Regions from separate parts of the Homo sapiens genome. Here regions 1 and 3 are each linked to region 2. Evidence: promoter capture Hi-C in 16 types of primary human blood cells and fetal thymus (Javierre and others, 2016). All regions are on one chromosome and are shown on one strand. Each heading gives the region's core, a stretch centred on a gene start or on the middle of the fragment in contact. The rest is flanking DNA. Distances are from core to core; before and after follow the strand shown. Region 1 overlaps MYO18B (myosin XVIIIB). Region 2 holds the start of CRYBB2 (crystallin beta B2). Region 3 overlaps MYO18B (myosin XVIIIB).

The links. The method cuts DNA at HindIII sites, captures the fragments that hold promoters and counts their contacts. A CHiCAGO score of 5 or more calls a contact.
Region 1: a contact is called between a fragment that was not itself captured here and the fragment with the promoter of CRYBB2 in region 2, in 1 of 17 cell types (M1 macrophages). The highest score is 5.4, in M1 macrophages.
Region 3: a fragment that was not itself captured here is called in contact with the fragment with the promoter of CRYBB2 in region 2 in 1 of 17 cell types (M0 macrophages); the score reaches 8.7 in M0 macrophages.

What each region holds. Positions count from the first base shown.
Region 1 is chr22:25,889,286-25,892,224 of GRCh38, forward strand. MYO18B (myosin XVIIIB) reads left to right here. Exons shown (of 44, transcript NM_032608.7): 26 at 1,471-1,590; 27 at 2,019-2,127. All of the region lies in intron 2 of MYO18B-AS1 (MYO18B antisense RNA 1), which reads right to left. Among named protein-coding and RNA genes, the nearest start is that of MYO18B-AS1, 9.2 kb to the right of the region's middle. The HindIII fragment of the contact is 516 bases long and covers 1,164-1,679 here.
Region 2 is chr22:25,218,199-25,221,382 of GRCh38, forward strand. It overlaps CRYBB2 (crystallin beta B2), which reads left to right and starts at 1,441. Exons shown (of 6, transcript NM_000496.3): 1 at 1,441-1,468. The HindIII fragment of the contact is 9,715 bases long and covers 1-3,184 here.
Region 3 is chr22:25,779,551-25,782,548 of GRCh38, forward strand. MYO18B (myosin XVIIIB) reads left to right here. Exons shown (of 44, transcript NM_032608.7): 9 at 506-648; 10 at 2,184-2,284. Among named protein-coding and RNA genes, the nearest start is that of MYO18B, 39 kb to the left of the region's middle. The HindIII fragment of the contact is 5,772 bases long and covers 1-2,998 here.

The DNA.
Region 1 (2,939 bases), core at 172-2,671, 670 kb after region 2:
GGCAGCTACGTTGCTCATTGTAAGAACCATTTACCTTCTCAGTAAAGATAATGCAGAGTCGCCTCTAAATATCAGTCATGATGCAGAGGGTCCGATGAAAGAGTGAGGCATTCTAACATCTTCACATGCAAAATTTACAGCAGGAGGACATGTGACCGCACCCAATTCAATGCATTTTACAGCTCAGGTGACCAAGGCTCCAGAGCAGGAGGGAATGTCCAAGGTGTTAGTTGTTGAGTCTGGACTCGAACCTTGCACCCTACCTCTTTCTTTTTTTTTTTTTACAATTCTGCTGCCTTCCATAAGAGGTAGCCTCAGTTTTATGAGCTGCCCTTCTCCTACATAGGGTTGTTTCTCTGCCTCTTAGCCATAAACACTCCACTAATATATTTCTCCCGTTACGTACTCTGCCATATCCTCAAACCCTGAACGCTTCATTTTGGAACGATAATGCCACAGAAGCCCTGCTCATTTGGCATCGGTGGCTGGTCAGTTAATCAGAAAAAAAAACCAGTGCAGGTGGGAATTCATTTAAAAATTCCTATTTTAAAATTAATTACATGTGTAATTTAAATCACTGCATTTCTGAGGCAGGACCCATCCATTTCTTTCTTTCTTAAACCACGCTCCTAATATACAACCGTATGATTTCCAATTTTGGCTTCTTTAAAACAGAGCAAATGGCAAAGTAATTTGAATACAAAAACCTAATTTTTTACTTCAAGTTTCTTTTTAGTTGTTGCAACAACACCTATTTGGCAGCATTTTAAAAAGCAGCTTACCTTTATTAATTCCTTCCAAGGCATTCAACCTAGTTTTCATGGAAACTCTGTCCAGCCATATTTTATAAGTTTATGTAGTAGCTAACTGAATAGATAGCTATGGTAAAAATGCAATAGGCAAAAACAGTTTGGGAGCACACACATGTGATACTGGATGTGCATGCCTGTCACCTGCTAGAGGCAGATAGGCCATGGGGCCATTGTAGAGAGGTGGTCTGGTGGAGAGCATTCTGGTGCAGTGGGCATCCATCAGTGTGTCTTACTGAGGGACAGTGTTGGTACATCCAGTGAGATGATTTGCTAAAAGCTGGTTACGAAGAGATTCCACTAAAATGGCCATTTTTAAAACTGAGCACTTACTACGTGCCAGGCACCGTGCTAAGCTTTCAATGGATTATCTCCTTGAATCCTCAAAAATAATGATGTATGTTGTTTTCCCCCCTTTAAAGCTGAGAAAACTGAGAACCAGCAAGGCATCCTGCTTGGTGTAAAATCACACAGCTAGTGAGTGTTGAACCACATCAAGACCAATAAAATTCTGAAGTCCATCCTCTTAACGAGTTGATTATACTCAAGGGTTGCTTTCCCATGATAGTGATTTGTCCAAAGGCGATCCTGTGCATGGGGAGAGAAGGGTTGGTGGCTCCATCGAGTGACCGTTCCTTGATCACCCCATTCCCCATCTCAGATTGCTGACTTGACCTCTGACCTTGCCGATGAGCGCTTCAAAGGTGATGTGGCCTGCCAGGTGCTGGAGAGTGAGCGGGCAGAGCGGCTACAGGCCTTCCGGGAGGTCCAGGAGCTCAAGGTGAGTGGTCAGGGGTGGCCAGGGGTGGCTGAACACGGTGGCTAAAAATGGTTGGGTCTGCTCCCCGACCCTCTCATTGGAGATCAGTAAGCTTAAGCAAGATGCACAGGTTGACTGACTGCTGGGCTCAAGGTCCTGGGGGACACTTAGGTCTCCTAAGGCTTGGCCTTGGGGGTGTTATGGGTGGATAGTCCCTGGCTAGAGAGGCGAATAGGAGAGGATTGTGCAGAAGGTGGACAGTCTTTGGCCTTGGAGGTGATTTGGGTGAGAAATATGCCGAAGGTGGCTAGCCCATGGTCCTGGATTCTGCATGGCTCAGGGCTGTGCAGAGGGTGGCCAATCCGAGCCTTGGAAGCACTTCATGGGTAAGATGACCAGCCCATGTCTTCTGTCCAGCTCTAGTTTAGACCTTGAGCCCTTTCTTCTAGAGCAAGCATGAACAAGTCCAGAAAAAACTGGGAGATGTGAATAAACAGTTGGAAGAAGCCCAGCAGAAAATTCAGTTGAATGACTTGGAAAGGAATCCCACTGGAGGAGGTGAGCAGCCTGGGACCCTTGGGGCTGGAAGGTGATGGACAAAGTTGTCTTTCCCATTTATTCAGTCACTCATAGAGCACTTTTTAGGTGCTAGATATTGCATGAGGGGCTGCGACTTTGGCAGAGCAAACAGGCACAGCGTACTCTCTTGGAGCTTACAGTCTAATGGAATAAGCAGATATTAATCAGATAATCCAACAATATCCCAGGTAACAAATTATCTGTATGATATGTGCTATTTAGTTTTAATGCAAAGAATGATTTTTAAATAGTGGCTTTATGGGCAAGGTACTTTTATGTTTATGTGAATATTTTAAAAATAAATTTTGAGAGGCCTGGCGTGGTGGCTCACACCTATAATCCTAGCACTTTGGGAAGCTGAAGTGGGAGGAGTGCTTGAGCTCAGGAGTTCAAGACCAGCCTGGGCAACATAGTGAGACCCCATTTCTACAAAAAATTTAAAAAATTAGCCTGGTGTGGTGGCATGCACCTGAAGTCCCAGCTACTTGGGAGGCTGAGGTAGGAGGATCACTTAAGCCTGGGAGACCTAGGCTGCATTTCAGCCTGGGCTACAGAGCAAGACCCTGTCTCAAAAAAATAAAAGCAAAAAGAAAACGTAAATTTTGAGGAAGGCTGTCTAGTGGTTAAAAGTTGGAACCTATGAAGTTGTATTTCTGGATTTGGATTTTGGGGCAAAGAAATTGCTGTGCCTCAGTTTCTTCCTCTTTCAAATGGAGATTGTCTTGGATAATTGATAGAAAATGTTTAGCCACATGTATAGAATAGAGTGATGAATAGCTAATAGCTACTTT
Region 2 (3,184 bases), core at 191-2,690:
CAGTGAGCTGAGATCGTGCCACTGCACTCCAGCCTGGGCGACAGAGCGAGACTCCATCTCAAAAAAAAAAAAAATAGAAAAGAAATGTGAGTAAAGGCTGGGCACCCATGTGGCAGCGATGGGGCCAGTGGTAGGGATCTAAGAGCAACTCACTCTAGGACAGTGGTTAAGAAACAGGCCGGGTGCAGTGGCTCATGCCTGGAATCCCAGCACTTTAGGAGGCCAAGGTGGATGGATTGCCTGAGCTCAGGAGTTTGAGACCACCCTGGGCAACATGTCAAAACCCTGTCTCTAACAAGATACAGCAAAAAAAAGAATTTAGCTGGACCTGGTGGCGCACACCTGTAGTCCCAGCTACTGGTGAGGCTGAGGCAGGAGAATCGCTTGAACCTGGGAGGCAGAGGTTGCAGTGAGCCGAGATCACACCACTGCACTCCAGCCTGGGTGACAGAGTGAGATTCCATCTCAAAAGAAAGAAAGAGAAAGAAAGAAAGAGAGAGAGAGAGGGGGAGAGAGAGAGAGAGAGAGAGAGAGAGGGGAGAGAGAGAGAGAGAGAGAGAGAGAGAGAGAGAGAGAGAGAGAAGAAAGAAAGAAAGAAAGAAAGAAAGAAAGAAAGAAAGAAAGAAAGAAAGAAAGAAAGAGAAAGAAAGAAAGAAAGAAAAGAAAGAGAAACAGCCAGGGGCCTTGAGAATAAAATGCACTCTCCATAATTGGCCTCCCTGGCCCTGCAACATCAGGCCCTGCCCACCTTGGCCACCTGGCACAGGCCCTATTTGTCACATGTCATGCTTTAGCTTTGTTAACCTGTTTTCAGGTCTTCTTGAAATACACCATGCTGGTTCCTTGTATATGGACCCTTTCTGCTTGGAACTGTCCCCCCACCCTGTTCCCAGGCTTCCTCTTCTCCATCCCTGAGGGATGCGCTACCTCCCAGGAGCTTTTCTGAATGGCCTGGGCTGGCGTAGGTCCTCTTCCTGACACTCCCCTGGAACAGAGATTGTCACCAAGTGGATGCCCAACAAATATTTGTTGAATGAATAAATGGGTAGATGAATGAAGCCCAGACTCTGCCAAACCACCCTTCTTTACTTGTTCTTCCCCAGGCCCACTGAGATGTTCCTCTGTCTGCCATGCCTCACGGCCTGACTGACCGTACCAGTGAACCCAGCGTACCCCTGGCCCTGGCAGCCGGACGGCTGATGCATGCAAAGCGGGCATCTCCTTGCCCAGCCGCCTGACCGCCCTGGCGCGGCCGAATCTGAAAGCTAATGACATTATTGTGCAGAGACACAATGTCTGTGGGCATTTGCTGACCCGAGCTTTGGTGAGAGCTTAATCCAGCATTCTCACCCTGCTTTTCGCAGGAGCACAGCGGTCACTCATCTTGGCACCGGCACTTCTGGGGAAGGTATAAATGCCACCTCCCGCTGGCCGAGCTTCACGGCACTCGCAGGGGCTGGTGTCACTGGTAAGATTGCCTCTCTTGCTTGTCTTCCCTTCTTTCTCTCATCCTCACCCCTGTCCGCAAGCATGGGAGCACCCAGATTCTGACAAGTGACTTTGGGCAGAGACTTCAATGCTGTTAGCCTCAGTTTTCTTTTCTGGTAACTGGGAAGGGGGTTAAAAAGCCTTCTTTATTGTAAGGATTCAAGAGAAGTTAGGGGATCATCCAGCACAGTGCCTGGCACACAGTGGGCATTGGGGCAATGTTCTTTATTATTAATATTAAACAGACTATCAGCATCCTTGTTTCGCCAGTCGCTGAGGAGGAGAATGTAACTGAGGGTTTTGCAAGAATCAAACCAGTGACAGTTCAGCATTGTTTCTAGGTGGGTGAGTCAGTTTTCCTCCACATCTGCAATTAGGGGGCACCCACTCTGTGCCTAGCCTCTGGGAGTGCTAGGGGATAGGATGCAGCCACAGGTATGTGACAGGTCCCAGCAACAGGTGATTTCAATGCCACTAAAGCATGGTAGAAATGACTCTAATAATGCCACAATTGCTGCCATTTGCTGCATGCTGAGTGTGTTCTGGGACCACGGCCAAGTGCTTCCGGTTTTATACATTACATAATTGAATCCTCACAACCTGTTCACAGGTATTATTAGACATCATTACTGTCCCCATTTTATAGAACAGGAAGTTGAGGCATAGGGAGAGGATGAGACCTGCCCAGAGTCTCAATTCTGGCAGGCAGCAGAGACTGCTCCTGAACTGGACCAACTGAGCTTCTTCAGTCTGTGAACACTCAGGACTGGGAAGTGATATGGCAGGACCTCAGGCACTCTGACAAGCCCAGAGGGCTGGTTTCTTGCGGGAGAGCAGTAGATTTGGCTGCCAAGGTGCTTAACTGCATTTCTTCCTCCTGGGAAACATCCAGTATTGGCCTTTCATGTGGAAGGGGCTTCTGGAAGCTGGCGTTATCTCTGAAGAGGGAGGCCAGGCTTCCTCTCTTACCCCTGGGGAAACACAGCCTGGTTTGACCACCCCTTCTGCAGGAAGGGGGAAGAGGCTGACAATTTTCCAGGCTTTTCTGATGTTCTCACTAGCTAAGGCAGGTCTACCCTGCTGCCTGCCACAGTGCCTGGATTTCTACCGTCGCACCCATTTCTTCTCTTTCTTGTAATGTGGGTTCTGTATCAGATGATTTCACTAATGGGGGAGTAAAACCAGTGGCAGAGAAGAGAAATCTAGGTACCAGGATGGGGAGAGGAGTCCCAGGGAGAGGGTGGGAGAAGGAGCAGGGGAACAGGGAACTTTGTGAGTTCCTAAACTGGGCACCACCACACCACCAAATACAGCCAATGCATAGGTTTTGTTTGTTCCACACAATTTTATTTAAGAAATTACTGCATAAAGGCAGAAGTTCTGGGATTGACCATTCTATATTCTGTGTGGTATCCATTGTCTGGGGTTGAGTGTTGGGAACCCACTTTGGACCTCATTTAAGCTCTAGTTTATTACTGCTCTCTTTCTTTGAGTAGACCTCGTTTTTCCCTCCTCCTGCAGCTGGCCTGGATAGAAATAAATGAAGCTAAGGACAGAAGTTGAAGTAGCTGCTTACGGACCCCACAGCTCTGGGACAGTCTGAAACCAGGAGAAAAAGAGAATGTTTGGGGCCAGAGGGGAGTGGTCTCAAGGCCCCACAGAGTGAAAAAGCCAGTGGCCCCTCCAGGTCCTCACT
Region 3 (2,998 bases), core at 272-2,771, 560 kb after region 2:
TGTGAATCGCATGTGTCTGAGGGTGGAAGTCAGGTCAGGCTGTATCGAGGTGCTTAGCACAGTGCTTGTTGCATTGTAGGTATGCAATGAATAGTAGTGGGGAGATTATAGGATTTTGCAAGCCTGCCTCTAAGCTGTGAGTGCAGGCCCTAGAATGTTATCCTCACCTCTTCCTAGGCTCCATTAGGTCTGGGAAGCCCTAGGGCAGCCTCTGTTACCCAGATTGTGCCTAGCCCTGGCCCTTCTAGATTGAGTCTTGTTTCCCCTACACTAGAGCTGGTAGTACAGGTTCAGCCCAGCAATCGGTGCTCAGTGAAATGTATGTGGTTTATAGTTGGGTTGGGCAGGGAGTGGGTGGCAGGAAGCTCACAGGAAGCCCACCGGGGGCTGAGGCCAGGATGGGGACTGGCCCAAGCAGGGGCCGTGGAAAAGGTGGACCTGTGTGAGGTGGCAGTGGCAGCACCTGGGCCATCAGTGACATGTGGCCCCATGCTGCCCCCAACAGTGGAGAAGATCCGAGCCACCTTCACTGTCCTCCGGGCCTTCGGCTCTGTGTCCATGGCCCACAGCCGCAGTGCCACCCGGTTCTCCATGGTGATGTCGCTGGACTTCAACGCTACAGGCCGCATCACAGCTGCTCAGCTCCAGGTGAGGCCTCTCGGGGGATGTGCAAGGGGGCCCTTGGGGCTGCTGTGTCTCTAACCCCGGGACTCAGCAGAGCCCACGCCTCCAGCTGGGACTCTAGGATGTGTCTGAAATGGTCATGGCGGTGGCTCAGGCCTGTAATCCCAGCACTTTGGGAGGCTGAGGTGGGTGGATCACCTGAGGTCTGGGGTTTGAGACCAGCCTGACCAACATGGTAAAACCCCGTCTCTACTAAGATGCAAAAATTAGCCAAGTGTGGTGGCAGGTGCCTGTAATCTCAGCTACTCGGGAGGCTGAGGCAGGAGAATCCCTTGAACCCAGGAGGCGGAGGTTGTAGTGAGCCGAGATTGTGCCACTGCACTCCAGCCTGGGCAGCAAGAGCGAAACTCCATCTCAAAAAAAAAAAAAAAAAAAAAAAAAAAAAAAAAAAAGAAAGAAAGAAAATAGTAATAATAATAATAAAATAATGAAATGGTCATGGATCCCCTAGCTGGGGCCAGTTGCTCCCCACCTCGCTAGGTGCCCTGGAACGTCCCCTTCTGGAGCAAGCCAGCCCGTCTGTGCTTCAGACTTTCAGGCGGATGAAATATTCATGAGCAAATAGAGAATTCAGGCTGTCATTAGCCGGGTCTTAAAAGCGCAAGTTGAAATTAAACAGACGCTTGCCAGCCTTCTGCAGCAGTCCGCGTGTGACGAACACATGGCCTGTTTGTTCCTATCTCCAAAATCACCCATACTCCTCCCCGTCTCCCTCAAACATCCTGTTTGAACAGAAAATAGGATTAGGTTATTAGAAGGGTTGTTTGTAACATGGAGCTGGTATAATATCCAGACTCAAGGAAAACCCCTTCATGCCAAATAAGTCCCTTTTCTGTCCTGGCCCTGAAATCCTACCCTTAATCACTATTTGGGTTAAGGTATTAAAGGCTTCTATTAAAAAGGGAATATGTTGGAAGGTGGCCTCATTTGATTGTTATTACCTTTGATACCTTAATTGAAATGAATCTATTGCATTAGTTAATTTCCTAGGTGGACTCTGAATTAGTGAGACAAAGGATTGAGAAGTTCTGACGTGGAGGTTGCCAGCAAAATTAATTTGGACCTGAGATGTTGTCTCGAAGAGTGGATCAGAGGCTGGGCGTGGTGGCTCACGCCTGTAATCCCAGCACTTTGGGAGGCTGAGACGGGTGGATCATGAGGTCAGGAGATTGACACTATCCTGGCTAATGCGGTGAAACCCCGTCTCTACTAAAAAAACAAAAAAATTAGCCGGGCGTGGTGGTGGGCGCCTGTGGTCCCAGCTACTCGGGAGGCTGAGGCAGGAGAATAGCGTGAAGCTGGGAGGCGGAGCTTGCAGTGAGCCGAGATCACGCCACCGCACTCCAGCCTGGGCAACAGAGCGAGACTCCGTCTCAAAAAAAAAAAAAAAAGAGTGGATCAGAGTGGGGCACCCCAATGGGGCTTCTGGGTAGCTGCACTTCAGGCATGTGCAGATGTACCCAAAGCACTGACTGGGTGCCCCTCTTCTCTCCCTGCAGACAATGCTTTTGGAGAAGAGCCGCGTGGCACGGCAGCCGGAAGGGGAAAGTAACTTCCTGGTTTTCTCCCAGATGCTGGCTGGATTGGACTTGGATCTCAGGTGAGCACTTGGGGCAGGAAGAGACAGCTGAGGGCAGTGCGACAAAGGGCACATGTTCTTTGGGGGCCCAGCCTTAGCTTCTGCCCAGCACTGAGAGGCCGTGGGACCCAGGGATTAGGAACATGGCGTCCGATTCCAGCTGTCTGGGTACACGCAGCTCATGGGCTGGGTGACTTTGGTCACATGTCATCCACCCTGAGCCGCGGTTTCTTCCTTTGTAATGTGGAAACAACACCTTGCATAGACCTTATAGGATTAAGAGAGATAATTTACATTCAGCTCTTTATAGGTCACATGTCATCCACCCTGAGCCTCGGTTTCTTCCTTTGTAATGTGGAAACAACACCTTGCATAGACCTTATAGGATTAAGAGAGATAATTTACATTCAGCTCTTTATAAATGCTGGGAGTCAAGGCTGTCTGCTGTGATAGTGGCATGTCAGTACTGGCCCTGGCAGCGGTATGGGAAGAGGGAGAGGGACAGCAGACCCCCATGTCTTCCAGAAGTTTCTAAACTTTTGTGGGAGCTTTGGGTGTATGGTAGGGTATGCCTACATGAGGTTCCTCAGGATGGACCTGGAGCTGAGTGGAGCAGTGAGCTGGGTAGTCAGGCAAGCCTCATCTTGGAGGGCCTCCTGGAGGAGGTGGCCTAAAAAGCCATCTCTGCCCTTCCCCAAATCTACAGGGCATCCTTAGGCATGTGGCTCATGTGGC